Linked DNA regions of Homo sapiens: region 1 is linked to region 2. The links are contacts of gene promoters, found by promoter capture Hi-C in human tissues and cell types (Jung and others, 2019). All regions are on one chromosome and are shown on one strand. The core of a region is centred on a gene start or on the middle of the fragment in contact, and the rest is flanking DNA. Distances in the headings are between cores, read along the strand shown.

Evidence for each region. The method cuts DNA at HindIII sites, captures the fragments that hold promoters and counts their contacts. A contact is called where the count stands out against the background at its distance.
Region 1: a contact is called between a fragment that was not itself captured here and the fragment with the promoter of HMGB4 in region 2, in 1 of the 25 tissues and cell types used here (dorsolateral prefrontal cortex).

What each region holds. Positions count from the first base shown.
Region 1 is chr1:34,600,319-34,606,670 of GRCh38, reverse strand. LOC105378641 (a long non-coding RNA gene) reads left to right here. Exons shown (of 9, transcript XR_001737964.2): 3 at 2,094-2,198. Among named protein-coding and RNA genes, the nearest start is that of MIR552, 66 kb to the left of the region's middle. The HindIII fragment of the contact is 6,543 bases long and covers 1,474-6,352 here.
Region 2 is chr1:33,861,584-33,868,146 of GRCh38, reverse strand. It overlaps HMGB4 (high mobility group box 4), which reads right to left and starts at 4,068. Exons shown (of 1, transcript NM_001379301.1): 1 at 3,356-4,068. The coding sequence starts at 3,955. The coding sequence ends at 3,395. The region is part of intron 5 of CSMD2 (CUB and Sushi multiple domains 2); the gene reads left to right. The HindIII fragment of the contact is 11,719 bases long and covers 1-6,563 here.

The sequences.
Region 1 (6,352 bases), core at 3,496-5,995, 740 kb before region 2:
CATATGCCACAAGTATGTTACAGGAAACTGAAGGGGTCAAGGCCACGGTCCATGGTGACCCGAATCCTCAGGGCTGGGATGGACAGTCCAGTGGTCCTCTAAGTACCACTTGTTCTGTGCCTGTGGCTGACCACTTCTCATTTTGATTCACAAATAATTTCTTTATAACACTCCTGTCAAATCTTTTACATGACTTTGCTGATCTCAGAAAATATGTGTAGATTTATTTGTGCCATTATGTTGAAGGAGTATGGCTTGTGAGATGCAGTTCTAAAGCAATTTTATTTTTGTCTCCCATGATCCCAGTTAAAATACATTCTATGGGCCTACTTCTTCTCTTGTCTCTGGATAAAAACCCAACTGGGCTCTTAACATCTATGGTTGTCACCATATAATAAAAAGTCCTATAGATACTTTAAGTTTCTACTATATTTCTAATTTAGTAATTAAAATATGCAGCCCCACAATCTTGCCTTGAAGGATAGACTTCTCGACTCAGCCCGCTGCATGCTGGAAGCTGTAGGGGAAGGAAGATGTATGGTTGGTGCTTTCTCTCTTTCTTCATTCACGTAGTACTTCTACTCCTCTCTCATCTTGCTAGCCATGTTCATGATGCCTCCAGGACTGGATGAGGAAGTCATAGAAGAGGTTAGGGGAGCAAGGATGACTTCACTTGACTGTTATCATAGTGGTGACCAGCTTCAAATCTCTTTGGACTTGGCACATGTTTAAAGTGACTTCTTCCTCTCATGGGTGCTTTTGGGAGACTTCAGAGATGCCCACCTTCTCACTGAAGATTTCTCACCTGCAGTCCCTGGTCTAGACCACATGCATCTCTATTTCGGCTGTTTGCATTCTCCTGAGAATCCAGCAGCATCTCCGCCTTCTCTCTGCTGAGGTCTGTTTGCTCTTCCATGTGGCCTTCCTTGAAAGGACCTAAGATGACACCCACCCTGGCTCTCTCTTGCACTTGACTTATATCAGATTCATGTGAAAGTCTTGTTATTCCTTTGCTCTGGCAAACTCTGGAAGAACGTCACTTTCCAGACTGTAGCCCTCAGCTCTGCATCACAGGCTGTGGCAGCCAGCCTCTTGACATTTGGATTTCTCAAGTGAGATTACAGGATTCCCACATTACGTTCTCCAGGGGGTATCACAAAGCCATAGTCTCTTGATTTGGGGTGAGGAGGTAGCACCTGTGTACTCATCAGGCTAGGCTAGATAATGCTGAGCTAACAAACAGACCCCAACCAAAGTGGCTTAATACTATACAAATTTATTTCTTGCTTTCAATCCACTGTGGGTCCAGATAACACAAAAGAGCAGTTGTCCTCCAAGCGTTGACTCAGTGCTCCAGGATGCTTTAATCTATGGCACCTGGATATAAAAAATGGTTGTACAAAAAAGTACTGCAGGTGGATAGTCATGTTGGTTGCACAACAATGTGAATGTATTGAATGCCACTGAACTATATACTTGCAAATTGTCAAAACTGTAAATTTTATGTTTGCCCACAATAAAAAACCCTGTTGTAGGCTGGGCGCGGTGGCTCACGCCTGTAATCCCAGCACTTTGGGAGGCCAAGGCGGAAAGATCACGAGGTCAGGAGTTCAAGACCAGCCTGGCCAAGATGGTGAAACCCCGACTCTACTAAAAATATAAAAATTAGCTGGGCTCAGTGGCAGGCACCTGTAATCCTAGCTACTTGGGAGGCTGAGGCAGGAGAATTGCTTGAACCTGGGGGGCGGAGGTTGTAGTGAGCTGAGATTGCGCCATTGCACTCCAACCTGGGCGACAGAGTGAGATTCCATCTCAAAAGCAATAACAAAACAACAACAACAACAACAACAACAACAACAGCAACAAAAAACCCTGTTGCCTGAGAAAAAACAACTATTTTTAGTGAACTTAACTTTTGCTTCATATGAGAAAATAATTTTTACCTTAAGTAGCTGCTAGATAGTCACTCAGATGCTGTTGATAGGACCTAAGATGACCCCCTCTTTCTTTTCAGTAATTGTTATAAATATTAATGGGCTAAATGACTTTAATAGAATTAAATAATAAAAAAAGTGTTTCTACAATTGTCACAGCAAAGGAAGAGAGGGCAGCAGGGCTGAATCCTGTCATGGAATGCTTCCATCTGCAAGTGGCACATTTCAGTGGCCAAAGCAAATTATGCCATCCCTGACTTCAAGGTAAGGTAGATGAAGTACAATCTCTTTGATGCCCAGAAGTGAAGAAAAACCAAACACCTGTCAGTATAGCTGTACCTCCCATGGCCTTCCACAGCCTCCCTCTCCTCCACCCTGGGTAGGGGTAGGATTCGTAGCACAGCTTACTCCAATAAATTCTCTGCTAAAATATTTTTTTCCCCAAATCCAACTCTTGACCTGCGCATACACTGGATGTGAAACTGATGTTTACAACCTCCTTTGCAAATTGTGCATATGGTCTACAACCTCCTTTGACATATGAGAGCTATTGTCTTTTGGTGCCCTGGCTAACAATTGCATTTTAACATTCTGTTATATATTTGTTCATGTTCTGTCTCCCCTATCTGAACGAAGGCCCTTGAGATCTGGGACTACATCTGTCTTGTTTCTGGGACTGTCTGTTAGGCTGCGTGCCTAGCACGGCATTGGACATGTTGCAGATTTTTCAGAGCTATTCTGGACAGGAAGGAGGGACAGAGGAGAGAAGGAAGGAAGGAGGGAGACAGGGAGAGAAGGAAGGAGAGAGGAGGGAAAGAAAAGAAGGAAAGAAGAAAAGAGGGAAGGAAGGAAGGAAAGGGGGGAGGGAGGAAGGAAGAAACAGAGAGAAAAATAGAAAAATGGTAGAATGGAGTTGAGTCAGGAAGCAGAGTCAGCAAAAAGAGTTCATGTGAGAAGGCAGAAAACCAAATCCCAGCATGGAGCCAAAAACTGGCAGATATCCAAATACTGGGTCAAACTCAGATCCAGTATTCAGGGGTGAAGCACTTTAGCGACAGAAATAAAATTACAATAGAGTGGCTAGGATTTGGTGCCTGATTGTGGGGTATGAGGCCCAGTGTCCCTGGAGGCTTCACGTTCCTCATTCTCCCTAATGAGAAGGGGGAAGAAAAGAGAAATGGCACTTTCTGAATGCCAGGTACTGCCTAAAGTTGTCTTATTGAACTCTCACGGTAACCCTATTATAGAACTGGGAAACTGAAGCTCAGAGAGGTGAGATAACTTGCCCAAGCTCACACAGCTAATTAGTGCAGCTGTAACCCAGATCTGGGTATCTCTAGGATGTGGGCTGTCTTCATTGCACAGATCCTTCTTAGTCCTTCTCTGAGGACAAATGATTCCTCTTTCTCTCTCTCTCTCTCTCTCTCTCTCTCTCTCTGTCTCTCTCGGAATTCAATTCCAGATAGCCGCTCCGCTAAGTGGATAGCATGAGATGCTCACTTTTCAATTTCCTGACTTCTGAGATGTTGGTAGCCATTGTGAGAGACATAAAACAACTTCAGGGTAAACCTGCCTGCCTCCACTCCGTTTATGTCTGGTTTCAAGATTCCTCCCCTCACCCAGCCCCTGACGTGCCTCCCACACAAGATCTCTGAGTTCTCTAAGCAGACGGCTTAAAGTGTTTTCTGTGGCACAACTCTATTTCAAAGAAAGATCCAAGTGCCTGTGTATTTGTGTATAAGCCTGTGTGTAGAATTGCTGATGATGTGCTGTCTGGGGAACCCCTCTGAGGGGTGCAGGTGTGATGAGGGTGAGGTGTGTAAAGGCTATATGTGCTGAGTGTGACATATGTATGTACACAAAGTCATTTACAGCTGCCATTGGCTGTGGTTTACCAATGGCCTGGAGGGCTGGTTAATGTGCCCTGTGAACTGTGCTGTCGGAGATCTCTCTTGGGTGTCATTGAGTTCCCGACTGTGGCTTTGCCTAGTGATCTAGGAAAATGGCATGGTGGCCAATTCACCTGAGGGAATTGGTGATGATGGGAATTGTGTTGAACTGTGGCTTGCCCCTTAGGACACTAGTAAGACTTGCCTGCAGTGCACGCACGTCTGTGCTTGATGACCACTTGAAGTCACCCTGGCTGCTAGTACTGATGATCTAAGAGTTCTGCAGGGAGAAAGTCTGTGAAATCTTCCTGGGTACACCATGGGGGTGGAGGGTGCACCAAGATGTTGAAAAATGCATTGACAATAGGTACCAGAATCCTTGAAGAGCTCTGTAGTGAGTCATCTGTAAGCTGGAGATGGAACTAGGATCCTTGATCTCTGTGGTATAATGGGGTCCCAGTGCTGTCGAGGCAAGACGGTGGTGACGAACCATCAGAGACAAGGAATGTGGAACTTCTATAATAATCCACAAGCAGAGACGTTTGCTTTGAACTTTCAGCAGACTGTTTTACCTTCCTATCAGGCCAGCTCCTTCTGGGAAATGGGGCAGGTGATAAGCCCAGTGATTTCCATGAATCTTCTGCCTCCTTGCCAATGCATTTCCTAATACTTCCGTGAAACAAAGCCCTCCCATGGTACATTGTTTGGGCATGGCTGAGTAGGTTGTACATCAAATATAGGCTTTCTTTTCCTGCCTACAGCACCAGCTGAAGTCCAGAACCATCATTTCTGGACTTATCATCCCCTTGATATCCACACAGTAATACTTCCAACCAGGGCAAACTTTTTAAGGCAAAGGAGTAAGGTACTGAACTAAAGACCACGCACACTATTCTAACCACATGCCCCATCACCCAGAAGAAACTGGCTTGATAAGGTGAAGGAGAGGTCTGCTGAAAGTTCAGTTACAACTGAATAGCCTCAATTGATGAATAGCATCTGCGAAGATGAGGTTGGATTCTGCAGGGTATGGTGTATGTCTTAAACCAGTAGTCAATGTCTGGTGCTGTTCCATAGCCAAAGTGAATGGATCTGGGCCCCAAGGAAGAGGTGGAAGTAGTTTTTTTCACAATTACACTCAGTAACCTACTTGAAGATTCTTTCACTTGCTGTTTCCTTGACCTTGGGCTTCCCAGTAATTAGAAGCTGAGATAGTCCCCTGGCCATTCTGGGATCCTTGTGTGGCTGAACCACCAGGCTGAAGGGGGCATCTCTGTGCTGACCAGGATAGTTGATCCTGGCTGCCAGGGGAAATTGGTTTGTTGCCACACAAGAGGGGCAAGAAGTACCCTGCTTGGAACCACAGGGCCACTGGAACATCTGTTAGTACTCACCTGTGCAATAGTCCTGACCAGTGGAAAACTGTGGCAACCCAATAAAGACAAGACTGCAGAGGACTCAGATCTCACAAGAATGAAGGATTAGGTCACCCCATCGGGCATTCCAAGAGGCCAAGGGGTACGTAGATTTGGCAGTAGAAGAGGGCACTATGGATTACCTACTTATGTCTCATGTTCAGCTATAAAAGCATGGAGAGTAGCAGCTAAGCTTTACGGCAGTTTTCTCTTTTTCTCCTCCTCTACTACCTTATATGAAGAATACTGGTGGTATTCCTCTTTTAGGTTTCAGTAGAGAGTTTGACTGAATTGACATTACCTTGTAATGATACAGAAGAGATGGACTTTGTGTGTTCTCTGTATTGAAGACATGAGCTTTTTACCCAGAGGAATGACCAAAGTAGATGCTGAGATGTAAAAAGGGTGGCTTGTGCTAGATATTGTTATTGGCTTCTTCAGATCCTTTTGCCACCATTCTCCACTCTGTTCTGTGTCCCCAGGGGCTGGCCTTTCCCCACTAGATCAAAGAGCTCCTTGTCCTTTGGGTTTCAGGTGGGTGTGGTCAAAGAGGAGTGTTGTAGGAGGTTAGAAAGAAGGAAGAGTGAGGTCAGGGCATTGATTTTCCTAGATCTTTCCCTGCAGGTCACCTTAGGCTGACTGACTGTGTCCCTCCACGAAAAGTTACAGCTCCTGTAGGTGGCCCTCCCTCTCTGCAAAACTTTCTTTTCTTTCTGGGTTCCAGTAACCACTCTGTTCCTTGCCTCCTGTGGGTGGGCAATCATGGCACTTTGCTACTACAAACTCCAGAATGCTGAACCATTCTTTTGGTTTCCTTATACCCTCCTCTCACCTTTGTAAATGGCCCCTTTATTAAACTCTTCTCAAACCCTTCCCAATTCCTGCCAGGACCCTGATTGATACACTGAGCTTGGCCAATTGGTTGTGCTGCCCAGGACTTTCAGTCTGGAGCATGTAATGCAAAAACCCCCACCAATGGTTGGGAATTCATTTGTGGTAACCATGGTAGTGCCCAGTGGCAACAGCAATTGTGGCTAATGTCAGTGTCCTTCTTCTGCAGTGACCATAGCATCCTAGCCAGATCATTTCCTGTGTTTTGGCCCTTGGGGGAGCC
Region 2 (6,563 bases), core at 2,819-5,318:
CATCTACTTTTTCTCTCACCCATTATCTTAGGTCCAGGCTCCCCCAACTTCTCCTCCTCCTTCCCTCCCTCTCTCTCCATTGTCATTACATTACAGTCATTAGAAGCCAGCAGATTCAGACCCTCCTATTGTCTTTTTCATAAAGGACTGTTAATGGAGTTAGTTTTCAGCAGGGGAACTGCAAACTCTTGTCAAAACTCTGACTTGGCCACCCACATTCACATAATTAATCACACAGGAAACCAGAAAGGGGTGGCATGAGAGCTGGGGCCTAGCTGTGTGGGGGCCCTCTTCCCAGAGAGGAGTGTGGTACATCACACAGCTGCTGCCCACCAAGAGCCCACATTTCAGGCTGGAAACAAGACAACCCAACTGGAACTACTACTGGGTAATACAAATCAGGATCTAATTAGCACTGGACGGTGGGAGGTGGCCCTCCACCTTCAAGATGTTGGTAACAAGAGATTGGTAACAAAGGAAAGGAAATTAAATGGGGAAGGTAGAGGCTGGAGATAGAAACAAGATTAAAGACAGTCTCTTCTAGAATTATAAGGAAGAGGGCATTTATTGAGTAATGTATTCTCTATTGCTGTGTAACAAATTACCACAGACTTAGTGGCTTAAAACAAAATACACTCATATGGTTTAAACATTTATAGTTTTAAACTTACATTTATACAGTTTCTGTGGGGTCAGGAGTCCAGTAACAGCTTAGCTGTGTGCATTGCTTCAGGCCTTGGTCAGCCAGGGCCAAGTTCTCATCTGCTGGCTTGACTGGGGAAGGATTCACCTACCCACTTGTGTGGCTGCTGCAATATTAAGTTCCTTGTGGTTGGTGGACTGAGAACTTCTGTTTCTCACTGGCTAATGGTCTGAGGCCACCCTCAGCTTCTAGACATTTCCCACAGTTCCTTGTCATTCCTTGCCACATGGGCTTCTCAAACTTGACCACTTACTTCATCAAGCAGCAAGGAGAATCCCTAGAGCAAAGTGGCTAGCAATATATAGTATTATTTATCATCACATAATCACAGAAGTGACATCCCATCTCCTTTGCCACATTCTATGGGTTAGAAGAAAGTCACCTGTCCAGCCCACACTTAATAGGAGGGGATTATACAAGGGTGTGAACACCAAGAAAGGAGGAAAGGATTATGGAACAGCCACCCTAGAGTATATCCGCTATATTACCTATTAGATTTAGGACTGTGCCAAATACTTTTACATGTATTACCTCAGTTAATTGCTAAAACAACCTGTAAGGCAGGCATTATCCTCCTTGCACAGATAAGAACATGAGGCTCAGAGGAATGAGAACTTGCCCTAAGTTCTGCCAACATTAAGGTGGGGACCACCATATCATGGCATCAAGTGAACTTGTATGAGTGTACAGGCTGGAGGGCCAGCACCCTTATAGTAAGGAGCAAGGGCCCCAGGGAGGCAGGGAGAGGGCAGGAAGAGCAGGAGGGGGATAGCTCTCCGTGAGGGGTGAGACCAGGAGGAAAGGATTGGTATGGATTACATTTCAAGAATGAAGGAAACTGAGAGCACTTATATCTGAGGATCTCTATTTTCTCAATGAAGCAGAAAATGCGGGCGTCTCCTGAGAGGGAAGAGAAGCAGAGCCAAGTTGGAATAGCAGCTGTGGGGAATGCGGAACGGGAATTTTGCCAGCATGCCTACAAAGTTGTCAAGTGGAATAAGGCTGCTTCCTTCATGAAGACTGCAGCACAGGCTTGCTGGGTGGTCCCCAGTCCCTCCCCCATTACTTTCTGCATTCACTTTCATCATCTTGCTTTGCAGTGCTGCAATTTATGCCCAAGTCCATCTCTCCTGTCAGAAGGAAATTTTTTATAGGGCGGGAACTTAGCAGTAGTGCGTAATGTGCCTCCCTGTACCCAGCAAATGGCCTGGCACATGAAAATCCTCCACAAATGACCTGTTTGATTCCAGACCCTGAATTTCTAAATCACTGTATTACCTCTCATCCCCTAAAGGCTCATGCAGTTCTAAAAGACTGTTCAAAAATATGTATTTTTACTGTTCAGCGCAGTAGAGTAGAAAGTGTAGGTCCCTCTATCATGGAATAGGGGTCCTTAGAGGTGGAGTTAGGGAGATCTGTTGCATGTATAAACTGGTGACAAAAAAGCAGCTTTGCATTTTGGCCCAGTATTTTTGATGTCAAGAAGTCAGAAGAACCATTTCAAAATATTCCATTTCAATCTTTATTGATTGGTATGGAATGTTGCCTACAGTATATTCTTGCCTGAAAAATCTAGTTACCAGACAGACACTTACAGCACAATCCCATTTGTGTCAAATTATAGTCAAGTAGGAAAAAACCTAAGTCAAACCATGTCAGGGAAAAAATGAAATGTGTTGTTCATCTTCAATGAAAAGTTTAGGAGACTGTTCTGATGCCACAGGGATTCTAGCATCTCGGCCTCCTTCTTGGGCCCTATGAGATGGCAAATGGCTGTCCACATTCCCTGGACTGCGGTGTCCCCCAGGACTCCTTACACAGGTCCAGAGGTCCACCCTGATAGGACCAACTTGGGTCACATGCCCACCACTGAGCCAATGACTGTGGCCAAGGCGATCCTGCCCTCTTATCCAGCCTTGGTCACGAAAGGGAGTCAGAGTGCTATGAACAAGAGGAAGAGGAGTGGAGGCCACATATTATACATCTATCCACTGAAAAACGATTGATCTGGTTCCCCAGCCCCCTGCTTTTTTTTTTTTTTTTTGGTAAAATCTGCCCCTTGCCTCCTCCTGATTAGGGAACACCCCTGGGAGTTCACCCTGGCCCCACTGAGCGTATCTAAGTGTTGCTGGAAATCCTGGGTTCCCTCAGGCCTGTCTCAACTCAGATGCCATATGTTTCTCCTGGGGCCTCAAGTGTGAGCTTGAACTCTAGGCCTTCTAGCCCTGGCAGTCTTCCCAGTCCTGCCACTGCTTAGCAGAGTCAGACGTCATGTTCCTGAACCTGACACTGAGTAGGGTCCTCTCACCTGGATCACCACTCAGAACCACGGTGCTTCTACCTCCATGACTGCTGCTACTTTACACCTGGAGGCTCCCACCCAGTGGCCCAAGTCACACCTTTTGTTTACTGCTGACACTTCTCTCAAAGCCAGCCCTTCCCTCCCTTTCCCTCCCCTCCATTCCCCTCCTTTCCCTTCCCTTCCCCTCTCTTCCCTTCCCCTCCCTCCTCTCCTCCCTTCCCCTTCTTTCCCTTCCCGTCCTCTCCGTTCCCCTCCTCAGGATCAGTCTCTCCTCTACCAAGCCACTCCCTCCTCCACAAAGCATCAGTCACAGCTACTCTAATGCCACACATGAGACCAGGAACAGGAAATACGGTTGAATGGCATTTTGTTTTTTCAAACTGGATCCATCAGCTCTGCCTGACTCTTTTCCCTCTGCACCGGTTTCTAGCTGACATTCGGTACTTCTTCCTGGCATTACATTGTTTACGGTAGAGTTCAAGTTCCTCGAAGTACTTAGCTCTCAGGAGAGCCACTCTTTGCTCATAAGGGTGCTTCTCCAGGTCTGTCGCTGTTGACCACATCTTCCCTGTGGCCTTGGCCACCTGCACCACCGACCAGTTCGGGTTCTCCCTCTTCAGCTGAGCATAGTGGTCTTGGCAGAAGAGTAGGAAGGATGATGGAGGCCGTCTGGGTTCCTGGGGATCCCGCTTTCTCCGTTTCTTCCTCTTGCCAACATAATTCATCATTTCTTCCTGGTATCGGGCTTTGTCGAGTTTGGCCAGGGCTTCATATTTGGCCTTTTCATGCTTTGAGATGGATCTCCATTTTTCCGAACACTTTCTAGAGAACTCTTTAAAGCCAACATAGGTATTTGGCTGCTGCTCCTTGAATTTGTTTCTGTAATTCAGCAAAAAGTGAACGTAAGAAGAGACATTTGCCTTAGGCTTTAGCTGGATTTCTTTTCCCATGTTCGTAAGTTCACCTTTTTTCTGGATTCAGTAACGTGGACAGGAGAGACTGTTGTTCCCACACTCCAGGAGCAATCTAGAAAGTGCTGTACTTGCAGCGAATTTTTCTGTCTGCAAGAGCTGTAGTCAGGGCTCAGCCTTTTCAGTGCTGATGGCATTGTTGAGTCAGAGGAGGGAAACTGTGACATCATCCACAAGCCAGCCAATCCCAGCCAACACCTGTGGGCATTTGTGTACAGGTGCTCGTATTGGTTGGTTACTTGAGGGTCAATGTTTGCCTCTCATGAAAGATGATGGTTCATTCATAGTAGGCTATGAGGCAGCTATGTCCCCCAGAAATAATTCTCCTTGGCTTCCTGGAGGCAGTGGGTTTTGCTGCACTTTAGGGGCTTAAAATCCCTAGGCTGTAGTGACAGGCCATGGGGTCTGCCTTCCTCACTATACGATTTTCAGGATGCCTCATCATCCCTTCCAAAGACAGGCTGAGCATAATGAACATGGGGAGGTGGATAGATCCAGGGCTGTCATGATAAAATGTGAAGTGTTTCTGTTTGCCTTGAACAGTGGCAGCTCATGCCATACAAAGGGTTTAGTAGTAACTCTAAAAGTAATCAGGTATGACAGCTGTGACTTGGTTCCTGTCAGGACAAAGTTGTCTAATTTAAAACCTGAGCACTTGGGCTATGAGTTGGAACTCTTCATTTCTCTGAAGAAATGTGAGGCGAAAGAGGGGGGAGAACCTTGAGATTTTATTAATTAACACTGGAGTTCATGAAAATGAAATGGAATTTGTAGCACATCCAGAAGCCTCCCCACTCTCATGTGAGGGGTCCCCATTTCTTAGGTTTAGAACACAAAGCTGTAACAGCTACACTCAAACTGGCCGGCTTCTGGCTTTTGGTCAAAGTAATTGCAGATATTCCACTAGTCTTTCAATTGGAGGGAAGAGAAAAGATGAAAAAGTGTCATTCTGGGGGCCTTTGGACACTGCTAGGTACTTGCCTGTGTGGCACTGGGTTTAATATCACTTAATGGTTGATGATAGCCCCAAATTTATAGGACTAGAAAACTGAGTTTCATTAACATAAAAAGTAACATGTTCAAGGTTGAACAGCCACTCACAGGTGAGAGTGTGGATTTTGACGGCTGATTGCTTGACCTAAGCCTGTGCTTCATCCTGCCTGCACAGAGCTGTTGCCAGGGCACTGAGGGTCCAGATATGTGGTCTCAGCAGCTGAGCCGGACAAGGAAACTTGCCTAAGACTAGACCATATTTTGAATTTTTCCAGGTTCATTCCCAGGGTTCCAAGACTTCAGTGTTCATCTTCTGTAAAAGAAAGATGGAAACTAATAAGAGTCTCCAATCCTGAATTCTTGCCCAGCTCTGCTGCAAGGTGGCTGGCCTACCTAAGCCATCCCCTTCCTCCCTGTGAGCCAATGATCTCTCATAAATTGAGCATTCTGGACTGGCCAGGGAAGCCCCTCCAGGGGACAAGCTGTAGTTGTGTGGCAGGATTTGGGGGCCTATAAGATATCAGGTGCCATCAAGGAAGTCTGGGCTAGTAGGGGGTCTCGCAAAGGAACGGATTACTCTGGGGACACTTCTCAGCCTAGGTAGCCTTTTTCCCCCTGGCTCTTTCTCCCAAGGGGCCAGAGGTTGACTCACACATTTTTTGGACATGAGCAGGGCTGCCTAGATGAATGGGACACAGCTCCTTTCTGAGATCAAAAGATGGGACATGAGGAAGAACTTTAATGAAAGTCCACATATTCATCAGACTCTGCTCAGGCTCAGACACACACACACACACACACACACACACACACACACACACACACACACACACAGAGTAGCTTATCTGTGCCTCTTAACCTTCCATCCCTCTCATGATAAGATCCAGGAAGATTAACCCACAATAGCTATCGGGAAGCTAGCAGATTTAAGAAGAAAAGGCAGTAAAAGGGAAAAGCTATGTCAACCTTTTGGTGTTGTCAAAGTTCCAACTTGGAGGATGAAGCAGGGGAAGTCCTTGTTTAGGGGAGCTTAGGAAAGGTAAATAAATCTGGCTTCCTAAATCAATGCTGTGTGCTGGGTATCTAAGAGTTGCCCTTCCAGATCCCCTTTCCAGCCTTCTCCAACCTCTCTTCAACCTTCTCTGGCCTGGGAAGCTGGTCTGTATGAGCCACATCAGAGGATCCCATACCCTCTGGTTTCCATCTCACTTTGGTCAATGGGGCCCTCAGGAGATCAGAGATGGAGGAAAGTTAAGTCAAGGCATTTATTCTCCTGGATCCCCACCCCAGGGTCACTTGGAGCTGGTTCTGTGTCCCTGGACTGAAGGTCACTGGTCCTCATAAGGTGTCCTCTCTAAATGACTCTCTCCTTCCAGTACAGGCATTGCCCCCTTTCTTTATCTCCTCCTGCCTAGGGTGGTAAAACTCTACTTTTATGAGCCTCTGAGGTCTCTGCTACTTTCCCACACTCTGCCCTCACCAATCATTTTAATTTGAGTGGCCATCTGTTTCCTGCGGGGACCCTGACCAAAGTACCATGGTTTTAGCCTTTCACCATGTAGGCATCAGTTTAATAGAGAAGAGTAATGAGCTT